7 separate regions of the Homo sapiens genome follow, and regions 2, 3, 4, 5, 6 and 7 are each linked to region 1. Evidence: promoter capture Hi-C in 16 types of primary human blood cells and fetal thymus (Javierre and others, 2016). All regions are on one chromosome and are shown on one strand. The core of a region is centred on a gene start or on the middle of the fragment in contact, and the rest is flanking DNA. Distances in the headings are between cores, read along the strand shown. Region 1 holds the start of TTC32 (tetratricopeptide repeat domain 32). Region 2 overlaps LOC105373454 (a long non-coding RNA gene). Region 3 overlaps LOC105373454 (a long non-coding RNA gene). Region 4 overlaps LOC105373454 (a long non-coding RNA gene). Region 5 overlaps LOC105373454 (a long non-coding RNA gene). Region 6 overlaps LOC105373454 (a long non-coding RNA gene). Region 7 overlaps LOC105373454 (a long non-coding RNA gene).

Region 1 (4,001 bases), core at 407-2,906:
ATCTTATTGCCTGTTCAGAAACTTCTATTATTATTCTTGTGTGTTATTGAAATGAGAAGGCAATTTTCTTTCTGGTTTAATTCCATGTAGCGTAACAAACAGGGTAAGAATCAAGTCCTTAGTGTTTAGTTAAGCCTCATACAAAAGACAAGCTGGCATCCTGTCCAGAAAACTCAAATCCACAACAGACAACTCACAACTATTCAAAAAGCTGTTCAACCAACCCCTCTGTTCTTTTCTCATCCTGATCCACTCCATACCATCAACAAGCCCAGTCGAGGCAAGACTTGGAGTAAAAACAAATGCTACACATCCAGGCACAAGCCGAAAAGATGCTTTGGGCAAGCAGACAGTAACAGGTGAAGCCGCTCACATCACAAAGAGAAAGTCAGCGAATCGTTATGTGCTTCCTGGTGAAAGTACACACACCCACCTAAAAAGTATTCTTGCCATGATATTGAATCTGAATTCAATTGGATCAAACCTCAAGGTTTAACCACCAATTCACAGCAATATGAGACAGATGACCACATTAAACGACAGAAGAGATTCAGTCAGCAAGTCCAAAACACGGAAATTCAAAGGACACAAGAATCGGTTTCCTCAACAAATAAAGAGGGGAAGGTGGAGAAGAGACTTAAAAAGACTTGATGTGTATCCTGACTTGAACTAACTGCGAAAAGGGAACCAAAGAACAAAACACCTTATTAGTCGATCAGAATGGTTCCAACACTGACGACTTGATATTAAGTAACTATGTGATGATGACATGGTGGTTCCTTCTGAAACATCCATGGATGAATACAATAGGTAAACTGATAATGCTTAAGCCAAGTGATAAACACCTAGACGTTCGTTATGCTCTCTTCCACATATTTAAACGTTTTTCACAAGTGAAAAACACCACCAAGAGCCTGCGCCGTGACACTGAGATGGGAGTCGCGGTACTGTGGCCCTACGCAGCCGTGACCCCTTCCCTTCCCAGGTCGCGGATTTCCCGCCAGCTAAAATCACGAGTGGAAAATTCCTATCTGTCCTAAGTCTCTGGGTGCGAATGAGGAACGTGGAAGGAGAGACGGCGGGGTGAGAGGCGGCGGCCCGCGCCCGAGGATCGCGCAGAGGGCTTGGTTCCCGGAAATCTCTCCGCACCGTCGCGGCAGCTGGCTCCTCACGGGTGGGCTTCTCCCCGCGTTCTCCGCCGCCCTCGTCCTAGGCCTCGCCTAGGCCTTTCTAGAAAGACGAACGTCCGCCCGCTCAGTCCTAGTGCTGGGTTATGACAAGCGCCGACCGTGAGCTCCAGAGGCAAAGATAGGAGCCCAAACAACCCCAACGTCGCCTCCACCCGGGGTCGCCGCGGCCCCAGGTCTCGCGATAGTTACCTCCCGGGACTCTCGTCGCTGGAGGCCGCGCAAGCGCACCGGCGAATGTAAGCGGAGTACAGTGCCTCGGCCTCCGCGTACTCTCCATTGTTGAAATGAGCCTGGGCGAGTGTTAGGGTTGCGTGGCTTTCTTGCCGCTGTCCTTCCATAGCAGCCAAGGCCTAGTTTTCGGTGTAGAATGGGGGTTGACCTCCGAGCGGTTAGAGGTGGCACCACAAAGCCACTTCCACACCCTGGAATCTACCTTGACAGCCAACCTTGGCGCTAGGTTTGTGCCTTATGGGGATCCGTCGTCTCGCGAGATAACGGTTCCGCTGCTGGCGGGGCGTTTGCAGTGGCCCTTGTGAACTATGTTTCTGCCGTTACCAGTGTTGGACCCGCCTTCCTCTTTTCCTAGAAAAGGCGCAGATGCGTGGTCGCAAACTGATTTCCAAGTCCGTTGTCTGATGCTGCGAGACACTATCCGTTTGTTACAGCGAATTGGGGGCCGATGACGCTGGAGGTGGAAGAAGCCGCGGTTCTGTTTCTTAATGGCGAATTAGCCTGCGGACGTCCTGTCATTCCCTTGCCTTTTAGCGTCCCAACTTAGCAAAACTCCGCGTTTAGGGTGTTCTGAGTAGGCTTTGTCTACCCTGAAACGCTTTGTGTCGACATTCCACCAGGTCTGTTCCACGGTCCAAACTTCTCTACCTTTTTTGACCCTCTAGAATTGTGTTACGATTAGTAGTATATTGTGTCGAGAGTCTGGGATCTTTGATGTTAGTTATATTCCCTGGCTGTTTATGCCAAAGGGAAATCCAAATAGTAATTTATTACGTACATTACGTATAATTCAAATTAAAATTTTGTAAGAACAGTTGCCAACCACGCTACCCTACATGCCTGCTGTGTATCTTCTCGGCGTCCCTCGATTCTGTTTTGCTTCCCAAAGTACTTGAGCCCTTTCCGTCATAAAAAGTAAAGATGAAAAATATATTTGGAGCATGATACTTACATGCGGAAGTCTTAACAGGACATAAATTGTGTGCTTTTGGCTGCTTTCATTAGATTTTTAATTTTTTCCTTTTACCACCACTGAAAAAAATACAAATACAGTGGATTAAGGTTAAATTAAAAAGCACTAGTAGAAATTAAAAGATTGCAAGACTACAAAAAAATAAACTGGCATTTCTGGTGTAAGCAAATGGACAGCTCAATAGAACAAAAGCCCAGAAACATACCTCAAATAGGCTGTATTTTGTAAAAGACATGTAACATATATGGGGAAAGGACAGATTATTCAAATGAGTGCTATTGGGAGGATTAGTTAACCATTTGGGGAAAAATACATTTAAGCATTTAAGCTCCCAATTGACATAATATTCATTCCAGGTGAATTAAAAGATTAAATAAATAAGATAAAAAGCTTTTTTTTTTCAGTTCCCATTTATTTTTGCCTCTTGGAGCAATGTCATCTTTTCAATATGAAAAAAACAAAACAAAAAACAAATCTGAAGTACAGGATAGAACAAAACCAAGTGTGTTGGGGGAAGCAACAGCAAAGGGAAGACAAGATGTTGCAAAAAAAAAAATGGAGGGGGGATTCCCCTCTCCTCTGGGGAATGACTCAAACACTGATGTGGCAGCGTACACTATTCTACATAAAGCCAGGGATGTTAATCCTTTTGGGGGATAAGAAAAAGTGGAGATGGCCAGGCTCTGTGGCTCATGCCTGTAATCCCAGCACTTTGGGAGGCCTAGGCGGGCAGATCACCTGAGGACAGGAGTTTGATAACAGCCTGGCCAACATGGCAAAACCCCGTCTCTACTAAAAATGCAAAAAATTAGCTGGGCGTGGTGGCGGGTGCCTGTAATCCCAGCTACTCATGAGGCTGAGGCACAAGAATCCCTTCTGGGTGGAAGTGGTTGGCAGTGAGCTAATTTTTGTATTTTTTGTGGTGATGGGTTTCCCCATGTTGTCCAGGCTGATCTCCAACTCCTGGGTTCAAGACATCTGCCCACCTCAGCCTCCCAAAGTGCTAGGACTACAGGCATGAGCCACCGCACCTGACTAGAAGTTTTGCTTTGTTCTGTTCAAGGAATAACAGGAATATTTATGTGTCTAAAAACCAGTGATCTAAGAGGAAAATAGCAGGATATGTAATGGAAATTGGGGATTTGGGAAGGGGGTTTCTAAATAGGAGTAAGATTCTTAACCTTTTTTGTGCTATGGCACCTTTACAAGTGTGGTGAAGCCTATGTCGTTTCAATGTTTTCAAGTGTTTTTAAAACATAGGATTACAAAGGAAAGGAATTATATTAAAAAACAGTTGGAATATTAACAGATTTATTAAAAAGTAAAACATTTATTAACATTAAATATCAAGAACAAATGGCAAACACAAAACTAGCAGAGGAAGAAAATAATAAAAGATCAAAACACAGATAAAACAAAAATGGAATCAACAAAACCAAAAGTTGGTTCTTAAAAAGATTAAAAAAGTTAATAAAACTTGAGCTAAATTGACTACGAAAAAGGAAAAGACTCAGATTACTAAAATCAGAAATGAAAATGGGAACATTACCATCAATTCTACAGAAATAAAGAGGATTATAAGAGAGTACTATGAACAATTGTATGCT
Region 2 (4,001 bases), core at 1,082-3,581, 1.5 Mb before region 1:
CCACTGAGGGCTCTGATGGAAAAAAAAAAAAAAAAAAGGTAACGTAATGGTGAATTTGTTCTCTCTCTCTTCCAGAGCTTGGATGCCCTTCTCCTTCTGCCCTTGGATGTCAGAATTCCAGTTCCTCTGGCTTTTGGACTGTAGGACTCACACCAGCATTCCCTGTCCCTACCACCTCCACCACCCACCAGCTTTCAGGCCTTTGGCCTGAGACTGAGAGTTACACCATCGGCTTCCTTGGTTCTGAGGCCTTCATATCCGGACTGAACCATGCAACTGCCTTTCCTGGTTCTCCAGCTTGCAGTCGGCCTGTTGTGACACCTCTCAGCCTTCCTTACAAAGTGAGCCAATTCCCTTAATTAATCATTTCTCCTCTCTCTCTGTCTCTTTCTAGCTTATTGGTTCTATCTCTCTGAAAAACCTTGACTGATTCAGTCATCTTCCTAAAAGAGTTCAGCATTTAATAAAATCCCTCTAACCCACAGGCCTAGTCCTCTCTAGGCTGGTTGCATTAAGGGATAGAAAGTCTGGAGAAGACTTTCCAATCCGGTTTTGGGGGCGAGTCAATTGCATGCGTGAAACTGAAGTTAGCAGGAGAGGGCGCTGTCCCCAAAGCTTCAGGGCCTGCAGATGCTCAGAAAGAGCTGTCAGCCTGGTCCAGGCACAGGAGAGAAGAACCAGTGTCCTGGACGAGGGGACCCGGAAGTCTGGAAAGCAGCCAGTATACCTTGGGAAGGGTGGGCAGGAGGCGCAAAGGCAGTCCAGCAAGCACAGAGGGACTGTTGAGGAATATTACAGGGTGGGGCAGTTACTGGGGGTAGGAGGTGAGGGAGAATTGTTTGTGACCCACATTGCACAGTCACCTTAGAGTTTTCCAGAAGTGAGTCCTGAGAGGAGGCACATGCAATGACCAGCCATAGCCACTAGGGGGAAGCATTTGCTTGTGAAACCAACGACCTAACCGACCAGTAGCCAACTCAGATTCCTGTCACTATACCCTTGAACTATCCCAAGAAGTGGGGATTGACATTTTCTAATGAATTATAAACTAAGAGACACTACTGCTGACTCTCCCCAGGCTAGGATTCTAGTTTAGCCGCAGGATGACCACAACAGACAAACCTCGCATGCTATTTGCCCATGAGTGGTCGGTCACACCCTGGTGATTTGAGGTGCATCCCGGGCACGGTCTCAGAGGTCAAGGTCTCTGAGCCGTCTTCTTTACTTATTGGCTAAGGGACTGTCTTCCTCCTTTTCATCCCTTGGGGCAGCAACATCCAGTTGCGGTTTGAGAAATCTGAAAGGAGACAGACATAGGCCCAACTACTCTTGGGACAGCTGTTTTTGTTTGTTTGTTTGTTGTTGTTTGTTTGTTTTGGATAGCTGTTTAATGAATCTCAGTGACAAACTTCAACTCTTCGATTTAGTACATATCTTGGCTCTTAGGGAGTAGGGTTCACATTTCAGCTTTGCTGTTTACTAGCTACATGAACTTGGATCCATCTCTTAACTCTCAGGCCTTTGGTGTACTCATTTAAAATGTAATCACAGAGCTGCTGTAAAGGTTAAATTAGAACCATATATGTAAAGCATCAGCACATAAAAAGAGCTCCAATGTGAGTACCCTTTATTCTTTGAATGATTTTCTTAACCAATCAGCCTTCCCTTAACGGGCCCAGCCTGGTGCTGTTGCTTCCAGTTATCGAAAGGATTATTAGGTGCTTGTGCACATTTCAAGTTTCCTTGTGGATGAAGATCCCATAATTTTCATTAGAGTATCACCTCTCAAACTTCAGACATTTTGATACCAACTTTATAATTGTTGCTATGTCTGCTATCCATTTGCACTATTATTTATTAAATATTTTTTTAAATCAACTCTTTTTTAAAAAACTTAATTTTAAAAGGAAACTTTATGTCATTTTTATAACTGGAAAACTAGTGTCACATGCAATAAATAAAAAGGTTAGCATAAAAATAACCATTAAAAGAAACCAAGTGATTAAATAGTGCATTACATAAATAATAGATACACCAATCAATATATTAAAATATTCCTGAGGATCTGCAGCAAGCTGTACCAGCCCTAGGTAATTTTAATAAGTCATTTAATACACAGATACAATGATTAGTGCATTTCAATAATCAAAACAAGCTGCACCAGCCCTAGGTAATTTTAATAAGTCATTTAATACACAGATACAATGATTAGTGCATTTCAATAATCATAACAAGCTGCAAACATATTTGGAGTTGTAAATAAATAAATAAATTCAAATAAAATATATATCTACTGTTCTTTGATAACTGATTTCATCTTTTGTATATGCCCCTCTCTGGTCAATTCTGTTCATTTGCATAATTAAAGCTGCCTCTTCAAATAACTCTCTTTCTGGTCAATAATCCAAATAAACTCTCAGCTTTTGGGTGTTTTCTTTCTTCCTCTGTTTTTCTCCAAGCTGGTAGCTGAGTTTATGGCAGAGGGCTGTGTCTTTGTGATTTTGTGTTGATGGCTATGGGAGCAGGGTATCTGTGAGGTGTGATATCGACCCTCTGCTCTTCCTGATTGTAAAGTAGTTGCTCGGCTGGAGTCTGGGTCCACACTGCTTGGCTCAAGCCTCAAAGGCCTGACCCTGGCCTTTGCTCTGATCCCATACCTTTGCTGGCACACCAGCCCTTTCTTGATATGTCTGTGTTCCTTCTTCAGAACATCCAGTGCTTGATCACTCTGCTCTCCTTTCTCCCTTTTTTGCCCAATAATCGCCACAAAGGGCAGGTTCTCACCTCTTCCTCTTCCAGGCCAATTAGTCTTCCTTATGTAAAACCCTACATTGGTTGGATGCGGTGGCTCACACCTATAATCCCAGCACTTTGGGAGGCCAAGGTGGGCAGATCACTTGAGGATCAGGCGTTTGAGACCAGCGTGGCCAACACAGTGAAACCCTGTCTCTACTAAAAATACAAAACTAACCAGATGTGGTTGCATGCACCTGTAGCCCCAGCTACTCGGGAGGCTGAGGCAGGACAATTGCTTGAACCCAGAGGCGGAGGTTGCAATGAGCCAAGATTGGGCCACTGCACTACTGCCCGCATGACAAAGTGAGACCCTGTCTTAAAAACAACAAAAACAAAAAACAAAACAAAACAAACAAAAAACTCTATATTTAAGTCACCCAGGCCATGTTAAAGATGGGGTTTGCCATTAAATTATAGTTTTGAGATAGAATCAGAAGTTACCTTTTCCTTTCACTTCACATTTTTGCTATAATGGTTATAAATATCTTTGAGGCAAATGGAGATCCTTGGCAGATTGAAGGTTGATCAGTTCAAGAAACTGTTACCCAAGTGAGACTGGAGAAAAGACCACTTTTATTAATTATACATCAAGAGCTTTCCAACTTTTAAGGAGCATATCTCAAAGATCCAAATAGAAGAATATACTAAATTATATGCACATTAAGACTTACATGTGTTGCTGGGTTTCTTTTGTTGTTGTTGTTTTACTTGTCTTGTGTGTTTGGGGTGATTCAGGACACTGGATGTTCATCAACACATTACAAGGCGTAGAACTTTTTCTGCTTATCCTGTGACACACGACTGTAAAAGATCTTTGCAAAGAGTTTTGAAAATGGATAAATGAAGAAACAAACCTATGATCATGAGAGAAGAACCAGAAGATTTCAATACTCAGCCACGAATCAGCAGAACTGTGCAGAAGCAGGGGAGCTTCTCTCTGGAGGCCCCACTTCATGTCAGTCAGACTTGTAGGAAGGGACTTTATTTCATGTAGTTATATGGGAAAGATTTGGTTTTCAATCCATCTTAATTTAATCAAAAAAGGGCCTTTTAGGAAAAGCCATAACTCAGTTTGTGCTAAAACCAACTAATAGTTGAATCTGAGTAGAAAATAGAAGCCATATAGAATGTGTTACCCTAAATCAAAATTCATTCTTCATCTGAAGCCTGCAGGTTGTAAATCAGGAATTAAACTCATGTCAGTA
Region 3 (4,001 bases), core at 1,007-3,506, 1.5 Mb before region 1:
AATTCAGGTTACAAGACAAAGACTTCAATTTATGGTCAGTAAGTACAAAAATCCCTATATTCCATCAGTTATTACTGGCTTAAGATTTATTTTAAAGTTTAACTTACATAACAACTCTGCAACAAGCATTGCTATTTATTGAGTGCAATATTAGTCACGAAATGATTACTTTGAGTATGGTGTCCTGGAGCTGGTGCTCACTAGCTCATGAGGACTAATTATGCACATCTTTTTGCAACTCCACATTCAGTAATGTCACATTGGTAACTTGAAATTGGCCATGGTGGGAGTATTTACACCATGGAAATTGGCAAACACTACAAATCAGGAATCATTTTTCAGAGTGCTGATTCTTAAACATTTTCCAGAATGTCATTGATTATTGCTCTAAGAAAGAAGCCCAAAACCTAAGTAGCTTAATACAGTAGAGTTCTATGTACTCACTCAAATGATTTTCAATGTGGGGATTTGGCAGGCAGCCTTCATGCAGTGCTTCGGAGCCCAGCATCTTTCCATCTGTGTGTCTACCAATCCCAGGGCCTTGGCGTCCTCTGCTGGATGTCTACATCCAGCTAGCAGATGGAGGAAGAGAATGGAAAATAACACAAGAGGTTTTCACAAGTCAGTCCTGGATGTGCTATATGTTACTTCTGTCCATTTTGAATTTTCAGTCCTTGGCCACACATAAAGGAAGTTTGGAATGGTAGTTTAGATTTATATTCCAGAGGAGAAAAATAGTTTGTAAAATAACTAGCTGGCCTGTATCATGAGTACTTTACAGTGGTCTAGGCACAGTTGCAAATATCTGTGAATGTAAATAGTTTATAAATCTTTGTCCACAAAACCCTTTAAGGTAGTTACTATTATTATTCATATATTATAAACAAATGAGCCTCAGAGTGATTAAGTAACCCTTTTGGCTAGATACCTGCTAAGTGGCAGAGATAGGACACATCTCTATGAGTTGATACACTGAACCTAGAGCTTCAATAGTAACAAGATTTACTGGAACCAGCCATTTTGAAAGCTGCTCATATTGACCTTACAGGATAATTCCTGCCAAAGGCAGATCTGAGGATTATGCTTAACCTTCCTGCCAATAATAAACTGCCAAACTAGAAACCTCAACTTATTTGTTGTATAGGGTAAGAAAGAAAGAAGGAGGCAAATATGGCCAAAGGTTTGAACTGTCCCATTGTTACTGGAAAGGCAGTGGGCTTCTCAGAACATCTTTTATTTACTATAGGTTTTAATCTCACTGTTCCTGGATCCAAGATAAGATTATAAGCTTGGCTCTTACCAGGCATGAGACCCACAGCCTAACGAGAGCCTGAGAGCTGGTTTAAAGATGGAGAGCATGTATTGGAGATGAGAGGAGAGAATAGGGATATATTAGAATACAAACTTCATTGACATGACAATTTCTTATGATGTCTATTTCTGAAATGCTTATCCTAGTAGAGTTAACGCAGTTTTCTCATAACATCCATCCACTGAGTCCTTTATGTGCTTCAGACCTCTAGAATTAGAGCTACACTCTGTAGAAACTGATTGTGTAAAAAAGGAAAAAATGGTTAGCAGTAATGCATGAGAAAAGGATCATGAGCTTCAGAGGTCTGTAGATCTGGGCCTGAATACTACTGCAACTTATATCACCACCACCACTAATACTATACTTCCTTGTGTTTACTGAGCTCATATAATGTGCAATGCATAGTTTTGAGAACTTTGGACCATTATCTAATTTAATCCTTGCAACAACTGTATGAGGTCAATATTACCCTTATCTCTACTATACAAACAAGGAAACTGAGGCATCAAAGGCTTAATTAACTTTCCAAAATTTACATAGTTTATAAGTGGATAATTAAATTCACATAAAACATTAAGCATATAGTTAATAGCTGATTAATCTGAACCATGTTAATGAACCTCTATTAAATGGGGTTGAAATACCTACATTCTTTAAAGATAAAACAAGACAGAGAAGTACCTTTGAGAGTGCCTGACACATAATAGGCGCATGATACATGTACACTGTTTCTCACTTGATTGAAATAAATCCAGACAGAAAAAAGTTTTTTTGTTTTGTTTTGTTTTTACAGTGGCAGACATTGAACACATTATTCCTGATAGAGGTTCGAGCATTTTTGTAAAAGGAGGAAAGGAGAAGCCTAGGAACATAAGAATAACTCAGTGGCACATGGGGAAGAGGGCAGTCACAGAGCATCAACTACTGAGGCTTCACCCAGGATATAGAAAGGGTCTCACACCCATGGTGACAGTGACCTGGCTCTCAGCATAACATTAGAAGGTGCTTCGTCTCTGAGGTTCTTTGTCAGTTATCAATTTATTACCTGTCAGCTTCAGATTTACCCTTTGTTATCTGCTTTGCAAAAATATAAGTAAGCCTTTTAAATAATTACTCCCCCTGCTGTCTGGCATGATGTTAAGTTTTTGTCAGTAGGAGACATGGAAAAGTCCTTCTAGGAGGAAGCAATAGTCTTTTCTAGTTCTAGTGTGCTCTCTCAGCAGACTCCTGCAGCATGCCTAGGTCATGCAGGACACACAGCTTCCTTAGTGCCTGGCTTCTGCAGTGCATGTATTCTCCAGCAACAGGCTCCTGAGTATGCACAGTTTCCCCAGCACCAGGCTCCTGCAGTGCACAGCGTCCCCAGCACCAGGCTCCTTGAGTATGACAACTTCCCCAGCACTTGCACAGCTATCCTCAGTACTCAGCAGCAAGTGATTTTGTAGCACAGTGTCTCAGGCAAACCACCTTTGCCCAGCACCCTAGAGGATAGATGAGTATGCGTGGCAGAACTTCTCTGCCATCCATAACCATGCCCTCCACCAAGGTCTGGATCTCAGCCCTGGGGCAATGAGTGAGAGGCTCTTGGTAGGGTTCTCTCTTTCAGCCCTGAGGATAGTGGTTGCTCCTTAGCTCTTCTACACCTGTGTTCTGTAGCACACTCTTTACCTCTTATTAGCCAATCCCTTACTACTTTAACGCTCTGTTATAGCTAGTAATTTTTATATTAAACTTCCTCTGTTCAAATTTCCACATAGTTCCTGTCTTGTGATTGGACCCTGACTAATGCAGGTACTCACTGTTGTCCTTACCCAGGTGGTGGCTAAAGGGGCTCAGGACTTATTCCTAGGCCAGTAGCAAAGACTTTAGGCTCAAAGCAAAGCCACAAAGCAAGTTAATCCATGATATCACTGGAAGCTTCTATAACTTCCTGAGTTCAAACACTGACATTTTATCTTCCCCAGGAGAAGGGGTGAATTTAGTTCTATTTCTCAGGGTGATTGGAATGTTCTTTGTCTAGTGTATGTTTCAATACTAACTTAGATTCATCTATTTCTTTATTAGAAGAAAGGTCCTGAGAAAGCTAGCTTTGTAGATGAGGAAACTTTCTAAACAAAATTTCTGTGGTCGAATGGTATTAAAGTGTCCTCTATGGGCTCTATAATTCCAGCTGGCCATGTCTTTTGGCCAGTGAGAAAATCTGGCTTTGTATTTCAGTAAAATGTTGAAATTAAGTTGCTTTTAACTAAGCTTGAAGTTGGAAAATATGATCATACTGAGTAAGTAAATCACTCTAAATAATGGTCTGAATACCTTCTAGTTTTTCATTTCTATGGCACTGAGATAATCCATATAGGATTTCTTGGCTTTTGCAGTAGTGAATATGCCAATGTACTCTGATTAAATCACTGGAAAATGTAGAGAAAATTTCTCCTTTTGGAAATAATTGTATTAGGTCAGATTCTCATCATAAGAAATTTCTTGGTAAGAAATTTAGAAAAGCAAAACAGAAAAATCAAAAAGTTTTTTTGCTCTGTCTTTAAACTCTAAGTACATCATTCTATGTAATCTTAAGGAATGGTTGCGTAGAAAATGTGAGAAAATATTTTTCAGATAGAAACTTGATAGGGCTAAATAGAATAAGAACTTAGTGTATTGTTTATAAACATGCACATTAATGTAAAATATT
Region 4 (4,001 bases), core at 710-3,209, 1.5 Mb before region 1:
TGCCAAAGGATAGGAAACTCACAGAGGTTGATGAGCACATTCTCTGCTGTATCTCACAAAGAATAAAAGGTCAGTTTGAGTCATTAGTCATGGCCTATCAGTGGGAATGAAGAATTTAAGAGAAAGTTGAGATAAAAAGAAAGGAGACTTCGGGGGCTGGAGAGAGAAGAAGGAAGTACTGGTAGAAAACTTTCTCACATCATCTTTCCTGTCCACTGTCACAAACTTTTATACAAAAGCTTATAGAATTTATTTCTGTGCATTGTAACTATGTAATGTTTACCTATTTATCTCTTCTGCCCCTAACTTGAGGGTAAAGGAAATCTGCTACTGATTTTTGAATCTCCAGGACCTGCGTTATAATAGATGTTGTGTTATTTTTCTATGCTGAGTTAACAAGTTACCATATACGTAGCATCTTAGAACAATGCCCATTCACTCTCTCACAATTGCTGTGCGTCAAGTCAAGACACAGCTTAACTGGGTTCTCTGCTACAGGCTTAATTTAATATGTAGGTCAGGCTGTGTTGCCATGTGAAGGCTCAACTGGAGAAGAATCTGCTTTTCAGCTCACTCAGGTTGTTAGCAGCATTCATCTTGTATGGTTGTGGGAGTATGGTCTTGGCCTCTTGCTGGCTGTCACCCAGGGACCACTCTCAGCCCTAAGAAGCCACCTGCAGTTTCTTGTCATGTGGTCTTCTTCACAGACCCTCTGCAACATGACGGTTTACATCTTTAAAGTCAGTAAGGGAGAAAGTTTCTAGAGCCAGTCTTCTAGCAAGACAGTCATACAATGTGACATAATCACATCACATGATTGAGTGATATCCCATCACTTTGACCATATTCTACTGTTTACAAGCAAGTCACAGATCCCACCCATACTCAGTGAAGGGAACTATGCAAGGAGTGAATATCAGAGGGCAGGAATCATAAAGTTTGTCTTCTACACAAGATGTTTTAATTTAATGAATAGATGAACAGATGAGGAAAGGACCACATACAGGGGGCTGGAAATGAAGCAAGATAATACTTTGCAAAGATAATACTTTGCAAGATTTCCAAACCTGGAATCTTATTATTGATTATCACCTATAACATGACAATAATTATACTCACTTCACAAGACTATCAGGAGATTTAAATAAAAAATGCAGATAACATATCGAATAAAATGCTAGCAAAAGGAGGTGTGCAACAAGTCTTCCTTTTCTCTGATTTTCTGATGACCTTGAGAGGTCTTTTCTTCATGCTGGGGCTCAGCTGGCTCATCTGTAAATGAGTGTGTTAGCTCCAGAAGATATCCTGTTGCTCACTACCAACTTGAAATCTCACATCACTGGACAGCAATGACTTAACCCAACAGTTACTTGTACACAGTCTCCTCATGAAAAAAAAAGAACTTGAAAAAATAAACTGAAGACAAAAGATAAGGGTCTTCCCTTCTGCCACATAATCATGGACTTAAGGGCAAAAAAATGTAATTCTCCTTGGTCAGCCAGTTGGAGACATTTTGAAAGTTGGATGTGAAAGATTAGCCATATAAAACTTTGTATGGAACACTTAGAGATTAGATCATCTGGCTCATTTTATATATTGCTGTCTTCCTAACTGGTTGGAATCTTCAGGGAGAGAAGTTTGGCTTTCTTTTTCCTTTGAGTAGCTGTTTACAAAACATAACTTTGATTTAAACAACAACTCTAGCTCCATTACAACTGAGAGAGAGGAATTTCTAACATTTTAAAATCTAGAAATGGAAACTTACATTTCTGGTTAATTGGCTTAAAATGGGAGTCAGTTACTCTATGTCATCAAGGAGCAGATAGGGGAGAAAAACAAAGGAGGATCAAGTCACCACTTGGATTGATAACCATGCTGGCTGAGGATGCTGTTAACTTCCTGGGCTCCATCTATGATTTTTCTCTTTATGCAACTCTTTTCTGGGTTTCTATTTGTCACATTCAGAAATCCCTGCTTTCTCTCCAACTCTCTTCCTTGCCATGTATGTCTGGCACACCCAGAAGAATTAGGGGGTAATAGTAACAGAATTATTATTCAGGCTGAGACTGTTTCCTTTTTCTTCTTCTCAAAATGAGGTGTCCGAGTGTTTGAAAAATTTGGCCAACTGTTTGGATAGACACTCTTGCAGTTTATTGTCCCTCATGAGGCCACCGTGAACATTTCTGGGGCATTCTGAGGTACTCTGACTGCAATCAGAATGTCTTACGTCTATCAGCTTGAAAATAGATCTGTAGATGTAACTTGAACTTAGAATTCAAGACAAAGTTACACCCGTATTTTCTTTGTCTTGATTTCTTAAAGCCTGCATATGTAATCACGGATACTGCAGGAGTAGGAGACATGCCTGTGCTTGAGTGCCTCCTGAGATGTTTCACCCCAGGTGCCTCACCCATTTTGCCCCCGTTCTCTTCCTGCTAAATAGGGCAGGAAGCTCCTCACTGAGATCTAAAATGAGCTGGGCATGAAGATTGTATATTAGCTTCCTAGGGCCGCCATAACAAATTCCTACAAATTTGGGGGCTTCAACAACAGAAATTCATCGTCCAATTGTTCTGAAGGCTAGAAGTTCAAAATCAAGGTGTTGGCAGGGCCATGCTTCCTCAAAAGACTCTAGGACAGAATTTTTCCTTGTCCATTTCAGCATCTGGTGGTCCCAGGTGTTCTTTGGTTTGTGGCAATGTAAGTCCAACATCTGCCTCAGACTTCAAATGACCTTCTCTCTCTGTGTCTTCTCCTCTTCTCATAAGGACAACATTGTATTAGATTGGTACAAAATAATTGCGGTTTTTTGCCATTGCTTTCAATGGAAAAGACCACAATTACTTTTGCACCAACACAATATTTAGGGCCCACCCAGGTAATCCAGGATGATCTCATCTCAAGATCTTTAATTTAATTACATCTGCAAGGCCCTTTTTACAAAGCAGATCACACAGACTTCAGGTGAACACAGCTTTTGGGGACTCACCATTCACCTCAAGACAGATTGGAATCAAGAGATTGAAATCCAGAACTTCAGACCATGAGATGATGATTTGTGAAGGATTATTTATTCAACATGTCTTTGCTGAGTGCTAGCTCTGTCCCCAATACTATGGTCTTGTTACAGTAGGTAACTAGACAGACATGAGCAGAGCAGGAGAGGGCTCCCCTCGTCCCCACCACCACACGCACCAGGAATATCAGGTGACCATCAGGTGATGGTCAGGCGGTTGTTAACTGCCTCTCTAAAATAATAATTGGTTGCAGTTGGTGCCAGGGAAAGGCAATGTCTTAATAGATAGGAAAAACCTGAAACTGGCAACCAGTAGCTTCCCAGTAAGATCTCAGGAGCTGGGTGAGTGGGCTCACACATGTTTGCTAAGAGGCAAAATGACAGAGTTTAACTGGTATATCACCTCCTAGAAACATTTGACTTGTCAGGAAAGAATGCCTCTATGGAGCGTGTGTACAACTCCAATAAACACACCAACTGAGCTTGCTCCCCTCCCAAGTGCTAGTAGGCCACTGTGCATGCAGACAGCCCACCCCAACAAAAGACCCCGGAAGTGTGCCAACGTATAAAACCCCAAGTCAAAGGTCAAATAGAGCACTTGATCTCTCAAGTTGCCCGCTTGGCCCTCTTCCAAGCATACTTTACTTCCTTTCCTTCCTGATCTAAAGCTTTTTAATAAACTTCCATTCCTGCTCTGAAACTTGCCTCAGACTCTCTTTTTGCCTTATCCCCCTCTGTCCGATTCTTTCTTCTGAGGAGGCAAGAACTCAGATTCCTGCAGGCCCCTATGGATCCACTGCCACTAACAGCCTCCAAGTGAGACAAGGTTGAAGATGGCAGTAATGAAACTGACATGATTTTGTCTCACATCTCCTTAAAACAATACCAAAACAAAAATATTTTAGCTACACTCTCTCAAGGGACTTAAAATCTATTGGGAGAGAAAGACAAAGACAAGTCAACAGAACGTTTGATTCAGGGTGGT
Region 5 (4,001 bases), core at 859-3,358, 1.5 Mb before region 1:
AAAAGAGAGGTCTAGAGGGATGTTCACCAGAATATTATCAGTGTATTTCTCTGGAGCATAAATCTTCTGGTGCATTTAAAAATATTATTCTATTTTCTATATTATTTCAATTTTGAAATAAAATTTTAAATGTTTGTTTTTTGCAAAAGCAATCACATTTTCAAATGAAATATATAAAATAAATTAAGAGAAAGAACCAAAGAGGTTGAGAGAAAAGAAGAGAGAGAAGGAGAAAGAGAGGGAGACAAGAGGGAGGGAGATGTGTTAAGATGCACCCACAAGGCTTTAGCCTATGGAGACGACTGAGTGATGACACAGAGAGGTCATTGCTACTAAAAGAAAAGTTTGTTACTTATGGTTTTCAAGAGAAGGAAGCAGGCCACACCATATAGGGCCGCGGTTCCCACACCAGGTTTGGTCAGGAAGCAAAGGCAGGACTGTCAGGGAAAGCTTGGCTCGGTGCTTTTATTGTGTTTTCTGTGGGAATGGCGAGCAGAGCAGGGAAACAGCTTAGGACTGGCTCTTGAATAATGTCGGCAGGCTCTGGGCTATAGGATGGTTGGTTCCTGGGTCGATTTAGGGCAGGGAAAATATTGGTTTGGTATGGGAAAGCTAGATAAAGAAGGAGGTTAAGGGCCTGGCCTCTAAGGACTGGTTGGTTTGCATGGGAGAGGTGTGTTGGCAGGCCAGTTGCTTATTGTCTCTGGGGATTAGCTATCCCTGGGAGGGGCAGTCTCTCCCTGTCCAGTTAGGCCCCCCAGAATGTCAAAGCAGCATAAATATGTTTAGAAATTTGGATTAATATAGGATAGAGGAAAAAGGAGAAAGGGGGGGAATAGTTGTTGGGGTAAGGCCCCTGAGAAAGTGGAAATGAGGGGATTCTGAGGATAAGTGAGGTTGTGTCACCATGGTTTGGAGGGGCAGTACTTTCTCTAAGGTTGAAGGGAAGGTGCGAGACGGCAGAAAGACTTCTTCTCTTCTGCTATGTGGAGAGAAAAGGACCTCATCCTCAGATGGCCTCAATCTTAGCAAAGAAGGCAATCTAAAATACTTCTGGGAAATGATCAAGACAGAGTTTGGTAAAGGATTTGGAAAGAATGGAGACACTTTTAAATAGCTGTTGGGGAAAATTCAGTGAGTAATTTTCTAGGTGTGAGTAAAAAACAGCTATTAGGGTCCAGCTGAGGTTATATTCAGACACAAAGACAGGAATAAATTTGACTCAGGGTTAAGCTTGTATAGTTGCTAATGATGGACATAGTCCTTTAGAGTTTGCAGCCTTGTCCTTAAACTTCAAGTCCTTGGACAAACAAGTCTCTGCACCAAGAATTGCCAAGATGATACAACAATTGATGTTGGCTGCCATTCAGATCCCCATTGTGCTTGGCTCTTGACTTACGTGGGAAGCATCCTGGGATGCTCCTTCCTCCTCTTTTGTTAGCTAGAAGACCTATCCATCTACCCGCCAAACCCTCATCCTTACATATTCACATTAGGAGATGGTTAACAACAGCTCCCCTCCCAATCCCTGCCATGACATGAGAAAGGGGTAAAAGAAAAATTCTATCATCATTTTCCCCAATATGTGATATCCTGAAAATTTTCACAGATCTGCTTAAGTCCTTGTCTTTAATGAAATTAGGAACAACCTCTGCAACGAGCCCTCAGATGAGACTCAAACTGACAGGAAATGAATTTGCTAATGAATTCATTAATTATTCCATTATTTATTTTAATAGAGCCTTACCATGTGTACTGCACTATAGAGGATGACCTAATTAGCATTGCTTTCTTCATGCTTGGTTTAGTAACTGATGTCTCCAAATACTTGAGTGAGGGCAGATGAAGAAGAGAAACATGAAACAGCCCCCAGATGTCAACTGATTCCACATGACAAAGGCTGGCTGTGTGAGGCAATAAATGTGTTCTGCCGACATCGGGCTGAGCAGTGCCAATATGGACATCTTCAGAAAAATAATGAGCCAACGTGGCCATTTCTCTGGGCCTTGTCTTCTCTCCTTCCAACTGAGCTGCATTTTTTACTCCCGATTTGGAAGCTATTTACAGTACATCTCAACGAGCCAGCCCGTGGTGCTGGCTCCACTTTCTTTTGGAAATATTAGAATTTGTCCCCTGAGGGAGTCAGAACAATTGTTTGTTAGCTTAAAATAAATCATACATTTGATCATGATTGTGCAAGACTCTCTTCTTCTCCCTGAAGTCTCCATCTCAGGGCTAGTGGAAAGGGAGATGTCCACTGGGAGGCTAAAAGCAGCACCATTGTCTATGGGGACGTACTGTCTCTTATCTGGAGATAAAAGAGCCAAGAAAAGAAGCAAAATAACACTACAGGGATTGCCTGAAGTGTAACTGATGGCTTTTACCAAGAAATGAAATCAAAGGGGGAAATAACTAACCATCAGTGGGAGGGGCTGGGGGAGTAACACCCAAGCCAACTTTTCCCATAGCTCTCTCCAGTGGATCCTGTGAAGTAACTAAGGGCAGGCAAAGCAGGCAGGAGTTGTGCAAAACCCACAGACACCCCAAACAGAGATTTCAACAGTTCCAGCCCAGCTCAGTGACTGTTGCATTGTGTCCCTTTGTCTGGCCATCAGCCTGGACCTTTTCTCTGATCATATGAAAAACATTTCTTGTCTGAATCACACAAATGGTTCCTATTTCTTCACCAGTCACACATTCTCTCTGGACAATCTCATTCATCTTTGAAGCCCAATACCACATGCAGGAGGATGAAACCTCATTTGTACACTGTAGACTCAACCTCCTTTCTGGGCACTAATTATTTCTGTAAAGCCATGCCTGATTATCTCAAAGATACCTTAAACACAATGGATTCCAAACCAGCTCTATCATTTCACCCAAAGCCTGTATCTCCTCCTTCCTGACATCTTGGTCAATGGTCACCATATGCGCAGCCTTTCAAACTCAAAATATGTCCATGTTACTACATAATTATTGATCTAAAGCTTTGATCATAGCAGGCCTCTTTGAAAAAGGACAAAATACACATCTCAGCCTGGAATGATCAGCTTCCTGAAGTCTCAGAGCTGTGCAGATTGTCTTTATTATCTTATTTGCGCTCTCTGAGGCATTCAATGCCTTTGACAACTACCCCCTTCTTGGAACGTCTTCCTTAATTCTTGTAACCTTCTATTTCTTTATCTATTCTCTTTGCAAGTTTCTTGCTTTGGCTCTTTCTCCTCATTCTCTTTAGTAATATTATTCCCCAATAAAGATGTTATCTAATCTCCCTTGTCACTCTACATTAGCATGCCTAAGAAACATGCTGGGAGCTTCTTATTTAGTTGCTGTCCATGTTGCTGCAAAGGACATGATTTCATTTCTTTTTATGGCTGCATGTTATTCCATAATGTATATGTACCACATTTTCTTCATCCACTCCACTGTTGATGATTAACACCTAGGTTAATTCTGTGTCTTTGCTACTGTGAGTAGTGTTGTGATAAACATACACATGCATGTGTTTTTTTTTTTGGTAGAACTATTTATATTCCTTTGGATATATACTCAGTAATGGAATTGCTGGGTCAAGTGGTAGTTCTGTTTTAAGTTCTTTGAGAAATCTCCACTACTGGATTTCAAGTTATACTACAAGGCTACAGTAAGCAAAATGGCATGACACTGGTACAAAAACAGACATATAGACCAATAGAACAAGTTAGAGAACCCAGATATAAAGTTGCACACCTACAGCCATCTGATCTGTGACAAAGTCAATAATAACAAGCAAGAGAAAAGAACTCTCTATTCAATAAATGGTGTTGGGATAACTGGTTGGCCACAGACAGAAGAATGAAACTAGACCCCTACCTTTCACCATACACAAAAATCCACTCAAGATAGATTAAAGACTTAGATGTAAGACCTAAAACTCTAAAAATCCTAAAAGACCTAGGACATACCATTCCAGATATAGGCCTTGGCACAGATTTCATGAGGAAGTCTCCAAACGCAATTGC
Region 6 (4,001 bases), core at 1,057-3,556, 1.4 Mb before region 1:
TTACTGGCTGCTCTCTCAAGAATCTACTGGTGCTCCTGACTCTGTAGGTGGACAGAGAAAATTTTAGCTATTAAATGTTACATAACTAACACTTACATAATTAAATATTACGAATCTTACCAGTAAAAGCTTCTTCCCAGCATCCTTTATGAATGTGCACAGCCAAGTTCACTAAAGATATTGAGACTGTGGCCCCTCTCTCAACACCCCCCATCTGCCTGCCCCATCATTCCCTCGATGCTAGCACATACTCCTCCCCCTTTACCCACATCTTCAGCCCCACTCTGAGACCTAACCCAAGACCCAGCTTCTTCATGTGGTCTTTCCTATAGCAGTTCCAGAATCACCTTTTTCGCTCTCCCCTGTTTATATTGTCATTTGCTAATTATCTTTTTAAAATTATGCCATAATTTCTCTTGTTTTAAAATGACCGGCTTCCTCGACTACATTTTTGTGTTCTTTGAAGGAAGTTATATACTTTCAAGAACCGTGCATAATAGCAGTTTTATTTGGCTTTACTGAAGTGACACATACTTAGCAATTTTATCCATTTGAATGAGGGAATAACAAATTGCAATGTTTGCAAGCTGAGCAGGGCTTTTCAAAGACCATATTTTAAGAGGCCCATGCCACACTATATCAGACATACTAAAACGTATTCACATCTCAATTAAATATTATTTACATATGCATATTTGTGGATTTCTCTACATATACACATACATATGCATATATGTATGTATACAAATATATATGTGTATATATATCTCTATATGAAGTGAATTCTAATTTGCTAGTTAAAATAATGTTCTGTTTCATACCTGTTTGACCATATTGATGTCAATTTTCCAATTTTTCTTTTTTACTTTAGAGCCAATGCTGCTTTTGGGGCATCATTTTTATAGGATCTGGACAATGGAGAGGCATGTTGGGTTGTTGATGGGGGCAGGTGCTTCCTGATCATCACTGTGAAACAGAAATAAGCCATGGCTTTGACCTAGCAGCCCAGCCTCACTGCAGAGCGGACGTCTTTGAGCAACACTGGTTGTGTTGACACAGACATTAGGTTACATCCCTCACTGCTGTTTCCACTTGTCCTGATTTTTCCTAGCGTCCTCTTTTGCTCTGAGATTTTCCAGGATTTTTCACACCACTTAGGGGATTTGCAGATGGAAATTTTGAGTAAAATGTGTTCACTCGTTTTCATGTTATGCAAGAGTGAAAACAAAAAAGCCTCAAACTCAATTTAGGATGGAGTGGGATGGGGTGGAGTGGCGCCCATGCACGAAAAACTCAAAACTGCTAAATTGCAAGAAGCAAAACTTTCCTTGAGCTTAATTTTCAGTGTGGGAGATTCTCTGTAGGGGTTTTGGGGAAAAAATGACAGAATTTTTAAGCACCATTGACACGAATATTTGCTACATAGACTTTGAGTGATGTACCCATTTCCATGTTGTAAATTGATAAGCAAAGGGAGTTGCTGAGGCTGGAAGTTACTGTTAGTGGTTTCTGAGGGTATCATGCAATGATTTTAGGAATCTTATCTCCACACTTTCTACTCCCACCACCCGATCCTCTTTGATGCCCCCGTGACTTATGCAATCCTATCTCTTACATTTTCATTTTTGTTTAATGTTTCAGACTTAGTTAAAACTCTAAGACACAATTGTAAAATTTCCTGTTTGAGGGAAAAGAATCTTTTTTTTTTTTGTTATACTTTACGTTTTAGGGTACATGTGAACAACGTGCAGATTTGTTACATATGTATACATGTGCCATGTTTGTGTGCTGCACCCATTAACTCGTCATTTAACATTAGGTATATCTCCTAATGCTATCCCTCCCCCCTACCCCCACCCCACAACAGGCCCCAGTGTGTGATGTTCCCCTTCCTGTGTCCATGTGTTCTCATTGTTCAATTCCCACCTGTGAGTGAGAACATGCGGTGTTTGGTTTTTTGTCCTTGCGATAGTTTGCTGAGAATGATGGTTTCCAGGTTCATCCATATCCCTACAAAGGATATGAACTCATCATTTTTATGGCTGCATAGTATTCCGTGGTGTATATGCACCACATTTTCTTAATCTAGTCTATCATTGTTGGATATTTGGGTTGGTTCCAAGTCTTTGCTATTGTGAATAGTGCCGCAATAAGCATATGTGTGCATGTGTCTTTATAGCAGCATGATTTATAATCCTTTGGGTATATACCCAGTAATGGGATGGCTGGGTCAAGTGGTATTTCTAGTTCTAGATCCCTGAGGAAAAGAATCTTTTAATGTTCACCCCATGGAGGAGTGTTCAGAATGCTTTTCTGACAGTTGCTAAGCATCCATGCATAAATTAGATGCAGATTGAACTATACAGAAACTTTTCCCATATGCACTATAAGCTCAGTTCACTTCAGTCTGCAAAGAAACAATACATACATGTAGAACTATTGAAGATTAAATTAAATAGTGTATAGCAAGCAACTATCATAGTACCTTATATATAACAGTGGCTTAATAATTAGTAGGTAGATTATCATTTTTATTTTAGCTAGAGCAGATCCTAAGAATGAAATATATCTATGTATAGATTGTAATATTCTTAAATTCTTTTTATATTTTATATGTGTTAGGAACATGAACACTTACCCACTCACTCTATTCACGTGGCCAATTGAGAGTTCCATATGAGTGGTTGGTTCACTAATTGTTGTCCCCTGGGAGGGACAGAAGAGCAAGAAACTATACCCACTTCAGTTTATTTCCAAATTGTATCAATGAGAAAGTGGTTGATTTTGAAGTTATGTTAATGTATAGAATTGTTTCAGTTCTCTGGAGCCTACTAAAAATACATCTGTCCCACAAAGTGAAGTTGTGAAAGATAATGGCATTTCTCTCCCTATCTTGATAATAAAGAAGTGATTAAAGAACTGACAGTTCTTCTCTGTGTCAAACCTCCCTGAACTGTATCACAAAGCAGGACAATCAGAAATGATGCAATGTTATGAAAGGGAGGAAGAGTAGGAGGGAAAAATTAAGAAATGAGGTGGAGAGAGGGGAAAAGAGGGAAAGGGAGAGGAAGATGAAGAGGGAGAGCGAGAGAGGTGACAGAGTATGTTCTTAATTAGCAGATTGCAGCAGGGGAGAGATCTTAACGGCTGGAACTGGACATTCTGAGACATGGTCAGGGGAAAGAAATCAGGTTTCCTCTTTGCCTGAGGGCAAAACATTGGCAGTTCCTCATAGAAGCAAAGTGCAGGCTTAAGTTCTTGAAATCCAAGGCGTTGTCAGCTTGAAGTTTATCTAGATCACAGGTGAAAGGTTAAAGTCAGTATGAAATTCAACATGTGATAATTTCATTGCACTGGCAACTTGGAGTGGTGGCTCCATCAGGTTCCAGAGGAAGGTATCCAGACCGGGTGTGGATGCAATCATCCAAACAATAAGCAAAGCCCAATGGCTTGGATACCAACCCTGGGGGAGGATGGATCTGGCATTTGCGTCAGTTAAGTCTGCCCAACTCCCTTCCTTCTTCCCTTCCTCTTTCCCCCTCTTTTTCTTTTTTCCCTCCCTTTCTTCCTTATTCAAAACATTTGCAGATAGCGAAAATTTATATTTAAACATATATAAAATATATATGTATAGCTCTATGAATGATTATAAAGAACTACTCTTGTGAAAACAGCACCCAGGTCAAGAAATGGGGCACCTACAGAACCCCAGAAGCCCTGTGTCTGCCTCTATGCAATTGTAATCCTCTTCTCATCCGAGAGGGGTAACCACTATGCTAACTATCATCATAATCATTTATTTGTTTTCCTGAGCTTTAATGCTGTTAAAATTTTTCCTCAAAAGCATTATTTAGTTTAGGCTATTTTTCAACTTCCTACAAAAAGAATCACTGTATACACACACACACACACACACACACACAGCTATATATATATACACACATGCATATATATAATATATATACACACATGCATATATATATTATATATACACATATGCA
Region 7 (4,001 bases), core at 860-3,359, 1.4 Mb before region 1:
GGCCCCTGCACAAAGAATTAGCCAATGCAGGCATCAAAGTGGAGTTCAGAAAATTGTGCACGCAGCTTAACCTCCTGGCTGCCTCAGCAGCTCTCTGCTGCCTTCAAGACAATTAATTTTTTTTTAATGTTTTTCTTACTGTTCTCAGCTAGAACAGTGGTTTGCTACAGCTACTGCATCAGAACCAGAAGTGGACGTCAACATGTTTTTGAGATTTGTATTATAGTTTGGGTCATTATTTTTAACAGCTGAATATAATTTATATATATAGTACATTGTATTTATTTATAGGTGGACGTTTGAATGTTTTCCAACTTTTCACTGTTAAAAACAATGCTGTAATGAATATTCTTGCACATGTCTTCTTGTACACATCTTTGAGAATTCCTCTAAAATATACATCTGGAAGAGGAATTGCAGACCATACAGGCTGCTAATTTTTAATGTAATTATATATTGCCAAATTGCTTTCTAAAGTAGATGAACCACTTTACATTTTCACCAGTAGTATGTGAGTGTTTGTGTTTATCACTAGCTTTGATAATTCTTGGTTGTGAAACCATTTAATTTTTGCTAGTCAATTGGAAATAAATTTATATCTTCTTTTTCTGATTACTAATGGGGCTCTCCAGCTCATTGCATTTCGGGATTCCTTTTCTGGAAATGCCTGTTCACATCTCTGGTTGATTTTCCATTGGATATTTGTCTCTTCCTTATGAATGTATTATTTATACAACCTAAATACCAATTAACCCTTAGTCTGCTATATATGTGGCAAATCAATCCACAAGTATCCATTGAGAGCCTTCTGCATGCAGTTCTAGGGGCATAAGGGTAAATAAAACAGACTAGGTCTGATTTCCGTGAGGCTTATGTTCCAGTGCAAGAAGACCGAGCATCATCAGTTTAACACAAAATTAGTAAAATGACATCAAATCAGAAGAAATGCTATAAAAATAAAACAAAAAAATAAAATAGAGAGGGATGGGTATGTCAGATGTTTTAGGTTGGAGAGGTTACAGAAAAACCTGAAGCAGAAGCTTGAATGAGAAGAGAGAGCCCCATGAAAATAAGGGGATAATGCTTCCCCACATGGATGAAAGTCCAAGACCCTGAGGTGGCACCAGCTAGGCACTCAGTGTTTTTTTTTTTTTTTTTCTATGTCTCCATCCTCCAAAGGCCAAGATTTTCTCTAATGAGTGCTTTACTCTGTGCTCCAGCAGGGCCACAATTATTGCTATCTGAATCTGAGTTGTGGCAGGCAAGATGTACAGATTATTCTCTGGCACAATAAATTGGGTTTAACTCAAGCCCCCCCAGCAGTGGTAATAGCTGAAGAAGAAAGCCTTTCTTCCACACAGCACAGTTCATGCTATTTGGAGGGCATCCTGATGAAAGGCATTGGCACTCTGGATTCAGGTTACCCACATTCATATCCTCCTTCCAGTTTATTAGCTATGAGACCCTAAAGCAAGTTCTCCAAACTCTCTGAGCTTCCATTTCTTCTTGTGTAAAATGGAGATCATATTTATGGTAGAAAGGCCTCTAAGGTGTCCCCCCAAAGATCCCAGCCTCTTGGTATTCATACTCTTGTGCAATTCCCTTCATGGAGTGGACCTAGTAACTTCCTTGTAATTAATGAGAATATCACATAAGTGACAGGATGTCACTTGTGAGATAAGGTTTTAAAAGACTCTGAAATCAATTTAAATCCATCTTGCTGTCTCCCTTCCTTGCTCTTTATGTGGAAGCAAGCTGCCATATTGAGAGGTCTATATGGCAAGAAACAAGGATATCCTCTGCCCAACAGCCAGCAAGGAACTAAGACCTACCAATAGCCACTGAGTGTGCTTGGAAATGAACCCTACCCTAGTTGAAATGAGGTGACTGTGAGCTGGCTGATATCTTGATTGCAGCTGTGTGAGAGACCTGGAGCTGAAGGAATCAGGCAAGACATACCTGGATTCCTGACCCACAGAAACTTTGAGATAATAGATGTGTGTTATTTTAAGTCACTAAAATTTGTGGTAATTCATTATATAGCAGTAAATAATTAATACAATAATAGGACCTTATCATGTCATTCCTGTGAATCTGAAATTACAGATGATTCCTGACTTAACAGTAATTCCACTTACTTTTTTTTTTTTTTTTTTTTTTTTTTTACTTTACTGTGGTGCGAAAGTGATACACATTGATGGAGTTATGTCCTGACAAAACCATTGTACAGCGAAAATATTTGGTGGAAAATAAGCATTTTTGACTTAGGATGTTTTCAATTTATGATGGTTTTATCCGAGTATAACCCCATTGTAAATGAAGGAGAACCTGCAACTAACACAAGTGTTAAGGGCACATGGTAAGGGCTCATAAATGTTAGGGGCTGTTCTCCTACTCATTGCCGAAGAGTTGGGCAGTGGGTGTTTTTACCAAAATTAAGGCTGACAACAAGTCCTGCCTCCTGCAAACCCCCACTGAAGCCCATTGGATCACAGGTCTGACCAAAGCATTCTTGCAGTTTTAAATCTCAGGAGTGGCTCCTTCAGATGGGCTATCTTGAAAGCACCAGAGTAGTCTCGTCCCTTAGTCCTAAAAAACCAAAGGATAGAGATGGCCTCGGATTTTAGTACCTTCCTGCTGTTCTCTTCTATTTTCCCAGTACTCCAGCTGCTCTCGGTTCTGATTTTCTCCAGGAAGGCTTTTCATACGGACCCCAGTGAGTTCTCCTTCCTCTGAAAACCTTAGCTATTTTCATTATGGTTATGGTTTTGTATTTCTTTCCACCCTTGTGCAACACCAGCTACCTGAAGGGGATTTTACATGTGCTTGTCTGACATCGACTCCCTTGGAGGTCTCTTTGGTACCGACGTTCACTTTCACTCTACTGCCTTCTGCCCATCTGCTATTCAATTCTTCCCACCCTTGCCCCTGAACTACATGGCAGTGGGTAAGCGTATCCTAAATGTTGGCAGTGCAGTGGCAGTAGATGGCAAGGATGTTTCAGGTGGTTCTTACAGGTCTCAGGTAACATATGAAACCCGTTTCATTAGTAAAACCAAAACAAGGGGTCCTGTTGCATGCTCCCCCATAGGAAATACTTTACAGCTTAGGGGATCCAGGCTATAAATAACTGTGCCAAGTCTGTGAAGCATATTTTTTTTGTCAGTTTATCCAGATCAGAAGCTTCTGAAAGTCCAAAGCCCTTGAGATTATTTGCTTTGTAACGATAAGAATGTGCAAGGTACTTCCACATTTATGATGTCATACAGACTCCAAAATAATGCTGGAAGATAGTCAGGAATCATTAACTCCATTTCATAAATGACTCAGAAGAGGGAGTAACTTGCCCAGGTTTATAAAGGACTGGGGTGGGCTTTATAAGGACAGGGGTGGGCTTGAGTTCAGATCTTTTGCATCTAAATGAATATTGACATGGTGAATATTCAGAGTTCTTACTCCGTGCTAAGCCCCACATTGAGTGTTTATACATGTTATCCCATATATAGTCATATTGCACACTGACGAGTTAAGTTTAGAGAGATTAAGTCACTTGGCCTGGTGACCCACAGCTAGTGAAGGAAGAATTGAGACTGGAACCCAGGTCTCTGGCTCTAGAGCCTTTGCTTTTACGCACACACCAAGTATCTCCCAACTCCAGAGGTCCTGAGCTTCCCTCACAGGGTGCTGGTGATGCAGTGTCAGAAGAGAGGAAGATACCCTGCTCAGCCCCACTCAGCCAAGGTAACGCTAATGGTCAGTCAGTCCTCAGAGAGCTGGGATGCCCTTCTTCTCCCTGCTTACCTCTGCCTGGCCCACCTCTCCTCCCTCAGATCCAGGCCTCTGCAGAGGGCCGGCCCAATTCTGGGAGCATCCTGCCTGCTAAGGTTAGAGAGCTAGGCCTGAAGAAAAGGGATACATTTTTAGCAATAATAATTATGCAAACCTGGACGTAGAAATATAATCCAGAAGGAGGCTTCATTTGCCCACAAAAGAGCTCTACA

Evidence for each region. Contacts are between HindIII fragments. The CHiCAGO score rates a contact against its expected background, and 5 or more counts as called.
Region 2: a fragment that was not itself captured here is called in contact with the fragment with the promoter of TTC32 in region 1 in 2 of 17 cell types (naive B cells and non-activated CD4 T cells); the score reaches 6.1 in naive B cells.
Region 3: a contact is called between a fragment that was not itself captured here and the fragment with the promoter of TTC32 in region 1, in 1 of 17 cell types (endothelial precursors). The highest score is 5.9, in endothelial precursors.
Region 4: a fragment that was not itself captured here is called in contact with the fragment with the promoter of TTC32 in region 1 in 1 of 17 cell types (erythroblasts); the score reaches 5.0 in erythroblasts.
Region 5: a fragment that was not itself captured here is called in contact with the fragment with the promoter of TTC32 in region 1 in 1 of 17 cell types (erythroblasts); the score reaches 5.5 in erythroblasts.
Region 6: a fragment that was not itself captured here is called in contact with the fragment with the promoter of TTC32 in region 1 in 5 of 17 cell types (megakaryocytes, naive CD8 T cells, total CD8 T cells and 2 more); the score reaches 10.3 in megakaryocytes.
Region 7: a fragment that was not itself captured here is called in contact with the fragment with the promoter of TTC32 in region 1 in 12 of 17 cell types (total CD8 T cells, naive CD8 T cells, non-activated CD4 T cells and 9 more); the score reaches 18.6 in total CD8 T cells.

The regions. Positions count from the first base shown.
Region 1 is chr2:19,900,327-19,904,327 of GRCh38, forward strand. It overlaps TTC32 (tetratricopeptide repeat domain 32), which reads right to left and starts at 1,657. Exons shown (of 3, transcript NM_001008237.3): 1 at 1,380-1,657. The coding sequence starts at 1,528. RefSeq lists enhancers at 618-1,499, 750-939, 1,080-1,139, 1,220-1,319, 1,500-2,380 and 1 more. The HindIII fragment of the contact is 3,134 bases long and covers 1-2,782 here.
Region 2 is chr2:18,386,951-18,390,951 of GRCh38, forward strand. LOC105373454 (a long non-coding RNA gene) reads left to right here. Exons shown (of 8, transcript XR_001739302.1): 2 at 76-341. Among named protein-coding and RNA genes, the nearest start is that of RDH14, 170 kb to the right of the region's middle. RefSeq lists a silencer at 843-972. The HindIII fragment of the contact is 3,437 bases long and covers 614-4,001 here.
Region 3 is chr2:18,408,323-18,412,323 of GRCh38, forward strand. All of the region lies in intron 4 of LOC105373454 (a long non-coding RNA gene), which reads left to right. Among named protein-coding and RNA genes, the nearest start is that of RDH14, 150 kb to the right of the region's middle. The HindIII fragment of the contact is 1,941 bases long and covers 1,287-3,227 here.
Region 4 is chr2:18,426,339-18,430,339 of GRCh38, forward strand. The region is part of intron 4 of LOC105373454 (a long non-coding RNA gene); the gene reads left to right. Among named protein-coding and RNA genes, the nearest start is that of RDH14, 130 kb to the right of the region's middle. The HindIII fragment of the contact is 3,445 bases long and covers 238-3,682 here.
Region 5 is chr2:18,443,634-18,447,634 of GRCh38, forward strand. All of the region lies in intron 4 of LOC105373454 (a long non-coding RNA gene), which reads left to right. Among named protein-coding and RNA genes, the nearest start is that of RDH14, 120 kb to the right of the region's middle. The HindIII fragment of the contact is 1,754 bases long and covers 1,232-2,985 here.
Region 6 is chr2:18,502,893-18,506,893 of GRCh38, forward strand. The region is part of intron 6 of LOC105373454 (a long non-coding RNA gene); the gene reads left to right. Among named protein-coding and RNA genes, the nearest start is that of RDH14, 56 kb to the right of the region's middle. The HindIII fragment of the contact is 4,359 bases long and covers 128-4,001 here.
Region 7 is chr2:18,528,153-18,532,153 of GRCh38, forward strand. It overlaps LOC105373454 (a long non-coding RNA gene), which reads left to right. Exons shown (of 8, transcript XR_001739302.1): 8 at 1-4,001. Among named protein-coding and RNA genes, the nearest start is that of RDH14, 30 kb to the right of the region's middle. The HindIII fragment of the contact is 2,143 bases long and covers 1,039-3,181 here.